Regions from separate parts of the Homo sapiens genome. Here all the other regions are linked to region 3. The links are contacts of gene promoters, found by promoter capture Hi-C in blood cells and fetal thymus (Javierre and others, 2016). All regions are on one chromosome and are shown on one strand. The core of a region is centred on a gene start or on the middle of the fragment in contact, and the rest is flanking DNA. Distances in the headings are between cores, read along the strand shown.

What was found. The method cuts DNA at HindIII sites, captures the fragments that hold promoters and counts their contacts. A CHiCAGO score of 5 or more calls a contact.
Region 1: a contact is called between a fragment that was not itself captured here and the fragment with the promoter of MAP7 in region 3, in 6 of 17 cell types (M0 macrophages, megakaryocytes, M1 macrophages and 3 more). The highest score is 10.2, in M0 macrophages.
Region 2: a fragment that was not itself captured here is called in contact with the fragment with the promoter of MAP7 in region 3 in 1 of 17 cell types (fetal thymus); the score reaches 6.7 in fetal thymus.

The regions. Positions count from the first base shown.
Region 1 is chr6:135,502,955-135,505,897 of GRCh38, reverse strand. All of the region lies in intron 2 of AHI1-DT (AHI1 divergent transcript), which reads right to left. Among named protein-coding and RNA genes, the nearest start is that of AHI1-DT, 6.6 kb to the right of the region's middle. The HindIII fragment of the contact is 1,635 bases long and covers 706-2,340 here.
Region 2 is chr6:135,449,779-135,452,750 of GRCh38, reverse strand. The region is part of intron 11 of AHI1 (Abelson helper integration site 1); the gene reads left to right. Among named protein-coding and RNA genes, the nearest start is that of AHI1, 46 kb to the left of the region's middle. The HindIII fragment of the contact is 915 bases long and covers 1,221-2,135 here.
Region 3 is chr6:136,548,997-136,551,765 of GRCh38, reverse strand. It overlaps MAP7 (microtubule associated protein 7), which reads left to right and starts at 1,344. Exons shown (of 18, transcript NM_003980.6): 1 at 1,344-1,424. The coding sequence starts at 1,358. MAP7-AS1 (MAP7 antisense RNA 1) reads left to right here. Exons shown (of 1, transcript NR_186370.1): 1 at 1-1,043. RefSeq lists silencers at 1,043-1,392, 1,433-1,612, 1,623-1,672 and enhancers at 894-1,431, 1,970-2,508. The HindIII fragment of the contact is 6,247 bases long and covers 1-2,769 here.

The DNA.
Region 1 (2,943 bases), core at 274-2,773, 1.0 Mb after region 3:
TGAGGGCATTTTTACTAGAGGGGCACTTGCTGATGCCAGGAATGTAGTCTTAGAATGCAATGGCCTCCCAAAGCATAGGATTCAAGGCCTTGCTCAGTGTGAGAACTAAGATGTTTGCATAAAAGTGGAACCCTTAAAAGATTACAGCAGCAAAGATAAACAAGGAAGTTTGTTTGTAGGGGCTAAAGTTCAGGTAGAGAAAAAAAAAATCTTCCCTCAAAATTATAACCATATCCTCTGTTTCATAGGATTTGGGTTCGAACCTATAGTAATCTGATAGGTTGGATATGGGGTATAAGAAAAGGAGAAAGGTCAAAGGTTATGATAAAAGAAAAACTTTAACTGAATTAAATTTAAAGGAATTTAATTGAGCAGTGAATGATTTGCAAATCAGACAGCCTTCCCAGACAGAGTAGGCTCGGAGACTCCAGCGCAGCCATGTGCTGGAAGATTTATGGACAGAAAAAGGAGTGAGGCACAGAAAATGGAAGTGAGGTACAGAACCAGCTGGATTGGTTACAGCTTTGTGTTTGCCTTATTTAAACATGGTTTGAATAGTTGACGACATTTGATTGGCCAAAACTTGGTGATTGGCCCAAGTGTAGGCTACATCTGGTTACACTTCTACTTGTTATAGTTTAAGATGTACAAAGAAACATTTAGGCTGAATTTAAAATATGTAAGGAGGTAGTTTTAGGCTAAGCTTGATTTAACAGTTACTCCAATGTATTTGGTGTTTGGCTTGAGTAACTGGAAGAATGGAGTTGTCATTGCTTGAGATGGAGAAAGTGGGGATTTGAGGAGGCAGATGAGGAATTCAGTGTTAGAAAAGTTAAGTTTGAGAATATGTCGGACATCTAAGTGGAGACATGTAATATACAGTTAGATTTATGAGTCTGAAGTTCAAGGAAGAATAATGGGCAGAAGGGATATATTTGGGAGTAGTCTACATGACAGTGGGACTATAGAACTGTAAGAAATCACTGAGTGAGTACGTGTAGATAGAGAAGTCCAGGAACATACCTCTGGGACATTCCAATATCAAGAGGTCAAGGTGATAGGCATGAACTAGTAAAGGAGCCCTAGAAAGAGGAAAAGCAGGAAAATGTGCAATCACCGGTTAGAAAATGTAATAAGAATTGGATGCATTCAAAATAGCACCAAAAATCTATAAAATGCTGAGGAATAAATAATAATATGAGAGACTTATAAGAAAAGTATCTTATTTTTTAAAAGCCACCATATCACCTTTTGACACTTTCACTATAATTGCTTAAAAACACTTTGGATTAGAAGTGATATAGCATAAAGCCATTAAAATGAATGGGGTAGATATATGTTACTGACATAAAAAGCCTTTTAGAAATAATAATACTTGATAAAGGACAAAAACAAGATGACAGGACAAAATCTATGGTAAGAAGTTATCTTTATAATTTAGTATATTTAGTATATGTATGAATGGAAGTATGAAAGAATGTATAGAAGACTGATCAGTGATTAAAAACACGGCTGACTTTCGGTTACCACATTATAAATATCTGAACGATTGTTTGAAATTTTTCCACGTGCACATAAGAACATTACTAACAAAGTTAGAATTTCCAGTGATGATTAAGTGGTGATATATACAGCATCTCCTTCTTATCTGCATGGGATATGTTCCAAGATCCCCAGTGGATGTCTGAAACTACAGGTAGTAGCAAAGCCTGTATTTACTATACTTGCATGCCTTTCTCAAAGTCAAATAAAACATAGAGTCAAATTTCCACATTTCAAACATTTTATTTGGGAAATGAGAATTGCATTTCCAGGCAAACACACAGAATGGGTGGTCTTCAGTATGTCTGAAAAACAAAGATCAGGTTGGAGGTTTTATAAAAAGGAAAAATGTTACCCATTGTTTTGCAAAGAAACAATGGGTAACATTTGGGGAGCTGGCGAGCTCTGATTGGCGAGTGATGGCAGTGGGTAAAACTAATCTTAGTGTCACAGCAGGTTATTTCATTAGCTATCAGATAAAACTGATTTCAGATTACAACAGGCAGTTTCAGTAGCTGGGCTTGTGGAAAATTTAATTCTTGGAGCAGATGCTATATGCCCCAAATGCTTTTTCCCCTGGGCCCTTCACTCTGATTTAGTTGGGTACAACAAGAATGACCCAATTTCTATAATCAACTTTCACACCTCTCATAAAGTTTAATTTATAAATTAGGCCCAGTAAGAGATTAACAGCAATAACTAATAACAATATAAAGTTTTTATAACAATATACTGTATTAATAGTTATTATGTAAATGTAATCTCTTATTTTCTCTCTAAAAATTTTCAAACCAAGCTTGTTGAGTGAAACCTCAGAAAGCAAAACCATGGTTAAGGGGGCACTATTGTAATAGCATGGAAATGAAATTGCAACATAATGTTCATTCAAGTAAGCAGAAATAAACATTTTACACACAACATGACCAAAATTAAAATACGCATGGAAAACAGACTGAAACGAAATTTGTCAAAAAAGTTAATTTAGATTCTCTTGGGTAGTGGTATTGAGTATTTTTTCCTTTTTTTCATGATTCTACATATTTCAAATTATCTATAATACATATATTCTTACTTTTATTTTTCCTGCTTATTATAAAAATTTCCAAACACACAAAGGAAAAAGTATAATGAAATACTAGGTACCTACCAGCCAGCTTCAACAACCATCAAAATTTAGATATACATGTGTCATTTCCTCTCACCTTTTAAAAAAATCTAGAATATTTTAAAGCAAATCCTGGACACCTTATCATTCTGTTCTGTGCACGTAAGTCATACTCTACATAACCACACCAACATTATTTTACCTAATGAAATTAATAAACATTTCTTAACATCTTCTAAATATTTAGCCCATAACAAAAAATCTGATTGCCTAAAACATGTTTTTCTATAGTTGGT
Region 2 (2,972 bases), core at 429-2,928, 1.1 Mb after region 3:
CACCAAGATTGGAGGACAGAGACTAAGGGGAGAAGAATGGTGCATGAAGAGGTTGCTAAGGTCAACGGGATGTTAATTATGATGAGGTCTTCTCAGTCATTATAGCAAGAGGAAGCCATTATAGAATTTAAAGAGCAATGGGAAGCCACTGTGGGATTTTAAACAAAAGAATAAAATAATCTGATTTGTGTTTTAGAAAGATATATACTCTGTTATGTGGAGAACAGATTCTAGAGGGAGCAAATGTAGATACTTGAAAATCACATTAGGAAATTCTTAACAGTAGTCTAGGTAAAAAATGTCTTTGTACATTTGTCTTTGACTAGGTGTCTCTGACTAGGATGTCTTTGACGAGATGTTTCAGCAAAGATGAAAGGCGTAGATTGATGTTTAAAAAAGGATATTTTAATTTTGTAATTATCTTTTCCTTCAAACATCAATTTAAATTATGAAAAGTCTTGAGTAATTATTTTGTACCATCTTATAAAAACATTTTCATTTGTGAATCCATTCATTCAACAAATATGATCTATAAAATGTGAGACAGTCTGCTAAATTCAGTACATTCATAGATAAATTAGACATTGTATATAGCTGCCCTCCAATTTAATTTCTATACAGACCTGTTACCTACATTATTATGTGCTATAGAACAGATGCTGTTAAAATCCAGTTGAGACATTTAATCCATATTGGAGGTTAGAGAGAGATTTTAGAAGTTTTATAGTCAAAGGGCTGAACAGCCACCAGGTTGGCTATGGTGAGTAAGTAATTTGAGAGTGGCCTTAGCAATCACCTGGTCCAGTGTGCTATCGATGATCACCCTTTTATAAATCTGTTAATGCCTTTTTCCATAACACCTTCCATACTGATTTAGAGCAAAGAAAAAAAGCCATTAAAAAAAAAAAGCAAAAAACTCACTTTCACATAGTAAACAGTGCCATCGTGTGGTTTTATTAGAAACTGCATTTCTTTTATGCTAAGATTTGTGCAGACCTGCAGAATTTACTGTAAGTTGCACTTAGGAAGCAGTAACATATTTCAGGGCATTTCTACCTCTAAGTACTATATGGATTTTTATTTATTTATTCATCTTATGCCATTGGCAAAAATGGCAGTCAAGAATTCTTATCCCATCCCCACCCCCCAGAAAGAGTAAGGTATTCTATGTGCTTCACGTCTTCTAACACTTACCTGTCTTCTTCATTAGACTGTAAGCTTTTTAGAGTCACCAATGACTTCTTTTGGGTAAATATGTTGAACATTTTTAGTCCTTATTTTACTAGGTCTTTTTGCATTTAATATGTCACTCTCTTGAAACTCCATGCTATAATATCACCAGCTCCCAGCATATTAATGTCACATAGAAAGTGTTTGGTGAATATATATTGAGGGAATTAATCATTGATGATAGAAAGAGTGGCAAGGATAAAATTCATCTTCAAGAAAGTGGCATGACGGATGCAGTAGCTGACTCCTGTAATCCCAGCACGCTGGGAGGTGAGGTGGGCCGATCACTTGAGGTCAGGAGTTTGAGACCAACCTGGCCAATATGGTGAAACCCTGTCTCTACTAAAAATACAAAAATTTGCCAGATGTGGTGGTGTGCACCTGTAATCCCAGCTACTCGGGAGGCTGAGCGGGGAGGATTGCTTGGACACAGGGAATGGAAGTTGTAGTGACCTGTGATTGTACCACTGCACTCCAGCCTGGGTGACAGAGTGAGACTCCATCTCAAAAAAAAAGGGAAGTGGCATGAAGACAATTAAAATTTAAATCTTTTATTACCTATCCTGTTGGTACGAGGGATGTCTTGGATAATTGTTAAGTTATTACAGTAATTCAAATGAGACTTTATCCTAATTCTCAGCTATGCCTCAGATTCTCAGGTACTTTCAGTTCTTTTAGTACATATATGTGGCTATTCTTTTAAACTAAAAAGTAATAAAGCCTTATTTATCTGAGCTCTACATTATATAATTTATAACCATAATGGCAGGGTCTTGGCTGAATCTTAGTTGTTTACTCAGGCTAAGCAACGTATTAATGTAAACTAAATTGCCTGTTTAAATTAATCTATGGAAAGTATGATTTAGAAGCTGGGGAATATCTTTTTAAAATTACCGTGATAAGCTTTGGGGAGCTGTAGGAGAGTTTATCAAGGGAGTCTCGAGTGCTTATGATTTAATGACTGAACATATCTATTACTCAATTGGGAATGGTTCTTTACCCCTGTGTGTCATTTGACACTAATCACAATGTCACCCGCTCAGCTTATAACCTCCATTGTCTTTACATTCTTTCCTAAAGGGGTAGGGGAAAAGATGGGCTATATTTTGCCATCTCTTTTTCCTTGTTGATGCATCATTCCTTAACTTATCATTCCTGAACAACGTTCTGAATTTTGCCTCTGCCACTAAAGCTTCTCCAACCAAATCACTAGTGATTTCTGTTTGCTAAATATATTGAACATTTTTTAGTTATTTTGTCACATCTATGCATTTAACATATCACACTCTTGAAACTCTGTTACCTTGGTTTTCTTGACACCATCCTCTCCTAATTTTTCTTATACCATTCTTTGAGTTTCCTTCATGGTCTTCTACCTACCTCCTTAATATCAGTCTTACTCATGGTTTCATCTTTAACCCACTTTTCTTGGAACCACTTTTCTCACCTGTGCTTCAGATTTGTAAATTCAGTCACCTGCTGGACATTTCAGCTTGGATGACTTATAGATATGTCAGATTCCTCCAAACTGAGTATCCGTGCTACTCTCTCTGCCACTTCAATTGGTGGTACCACCATCTGTCCACTCTCCCAGATTTACGAACTTAGAGTTACACTGTTTTGGTAGCTACAAGTCACATGGCTGTTTGAATTCAAATTAAATATAATTAAAAATTTACTTTCACATTTGTGCTAGCCATACTTCAAGTGCAGGGTAGCCACATGTGGATTCCGTATTGGTT
Region 3 (2,769 bases), core at 95-2,594:
AAAACACAAAAAATCTTTGCTGAGGCCCAAGCTGAGGTCAAAAACTACCTCTAGCCATCTGGTGCTTTATTTTTATTGATTAGAAGTCTCTGATAAGACTGATTTGAATGTGATTTAGGAATATCACATTCTAAATGGTCAGTTTGCCTATTCCATTATAGAAATGACACTACGGGAAAATTCATCATCACAGACCACAGCAGAAGTGTTCTTTAGTTAAAGCTCTACCTAGTCATCCAGAAAGCCAGTAAGTAAACCAAATAAAAATAGTTCACTGGGCTCAGAGTGGCAAGTTTTGCATGCAAAGATCGTGAAAATTGTAACCCTAACAATAAATCCAATACTGTTCTCGACTCTCTTGTGTGTCCAGTGCTGCTGCAGTCCTTGGAAGGCTTTTAAACTGTTCAGAGCTTGCTGGTTATCTTCAGCCAAGCCAGAGAGTGGGAGTGCAGTGCATTTTAGTGTAACCATGCGGAACTGGTCGCTCCTTGATTTTGTGCCGTATGTTTCCATTTGTGTAGGCTTTTTCCCCCCTCAGTATTTTGTTGCTTATCCTTTAGAGCGAAATTGGTTTTTCCTCGGCCAATAATCTGTTTCTTTAAAAAAAGAAAAATTCGTTACCTATTGCCTTTTTTTCTGGTCTTCCTGAGCAAGCCAGAAGTCACAAGGTCGTTTACTAAACGGAAACTAAGAAAAAGAAAAGCCACATCAGCCGGCACAAGCCTCTCTAACTTGTGTGCCCTGAGGCTCATCAGATGCGAAGTCCTGGCGACAAGATAGGGTCGCCCGCAGTGGCTTCCTAAAGCGCAGATCCAGGCCGGCTCCCAGCGTGGAATCCGACCCATGTACTTCGCCTCTCCACGTGGCATCAGATGCTCTGCCGGCTGTCACCGTGAACTCCAGCCCTCGCGGAGCCGACACTGACCTGGCTACTTCAGAGTTCGGAGGGAAATAGCGTCTCCGTACCCTCGCCCCACCTGGGCTGCTCCTCGGACCGCCGCTCGTCCCAGACTCCAGGAGGCGCCACCAGGCCTCGCTGACCCCGCTCCATATCTCCGGGAGCCCTCAGCTGGTCGGCCGCGGCGACCGGAAGCTCCGGACTGAGGTACTGGTTCCGCCCGCCGCTCTTCCAGCCGAGACTCGGCAGCGGCGGTCGGAGCGGCTGCCACGCCGCACCTGCCCGCGAGGGGGCGCGCCAGGCCCAGGCCGCAGCCGACTGCCGCGCTCTCTGTCCCCGCCCTCCGCCATCCCCGGACTGCGCTCACCTGTCTGGGCCGCTGGCCTGGGAGGCGGGGGCCGGCGGGAGCCAAGCCGAGGAAAGGGCGGAGCGGCTCTCCGGGCGCGTCATCGGAGCACCATGGCGGAGCTAGGAGCTGGCGGCGACGGCCACAGGGGCGGCGACGGCGCAGTGCGAAGCGAAACAGGTGACCGCACAGCGGGGATAGTGGGGGTCCCGTCGGGCAGGGGACGGCGAGCGGGGCCGGCGGGCTGGCACCGAAATCACCCGGCGCCGGCAGCCCCCTCCCCGCCCGCGCGGCCGCGGCCCGGAACAACCGGCCCTGCGCGCCGCGCACCCTGCTCCGAGAGCGCCTTCCCCCGCCCTTCGCCGCCGCGGCTCGGCCAGCCCGGCTCGGCCCCGGCCGGGGTTGCGGCCGCCCTCGGGCGCTCCACCGCGACTTTCCCGCAACAGGTGGAGGCGAGCCGGGGGAGGAAACGGAGAGACCCCGGCCGCTGCCCTCCCCGCCGCGGCCTCGGGTCTAATTCAGTTGAATGGGAAATCGTATCCCCCAGACCAAACCAGTGGCCAGAGAGTCGTCGGCCAGGTGCGACTGGCAGGACGAGCAGTTTCTGGGCACCTCCTCCCGCCTTCCCTGGTCGCCCCGGGTGCCGGGGGCTCCTCAGCGGGGTCGGTGTGGGGCAGGACCGCGGGGTGAGCGGCCCGCCCCCCAATCTGGTGCCCGCAGTGGCGACGACCGTCGTCCGAGGGGACCGAGCTCGGGAGGGCCGGGGCCCAGTGCAGCACGGTGGGGGTTTGCGAGTGCGGGCTTGACGGGATCAGACTTTCGTTGACTTGTCGGAGTTCTCAGAGTTTTTTGTTTTTAGTCTGTGCAGGAGCCCAAAGGAGGATTGTTGGCTCTGCAGCCCGGGATTTGGTGGTCAGGCCTCTGTGTTGAGGATACCCCTCCCCCACAACCTCCAGGGGCACACTTAGGGACAGGGGATCACGTCCCCAAGACCAGCAGCAAGGCTTCCCAAGACCAGCAGCAAGGCTTCCCAACCCCGCCCATCTCTCCATAGTATGAAGCCGATTTTTCTCCCTCGTGATTTTTTTTTCTCCAGAGGCTATCTTGCAAATCCGTCCCTCTCCACTGGTTCCCTCTTCTATTCTTGGCCAGTAAGCTGTTTCTATATCTTCCTACACTTGGGGATGGGGGCAGTGAGGCAGTTTCTTACTTTAAAAAGAAATTCAATTCTTAGACTCTCCAATTGCAAGCTGTTTTCCACTTCCATACGGTCACAATCGGAAGCATTTGTTTCCTAAATGTAAGAATCACTGTCTCCCCACCATCAAGTATGCTTATTTTAACGTGAAAGGTCCAGAGAGCTCTGAAACAGTATTTGCAAATTATGTATCTGCTATTGCTAGGAAGAGGTTGGGTACGTAAAGTCTAATGATTTAATCCCTTCAGCCAAGATACCTGAGGTTAAGACTGACAAAGTATCTTGAACTTGTTTAAGTCATGCTCCTTCCTGTAGGGAGTTTGTCTT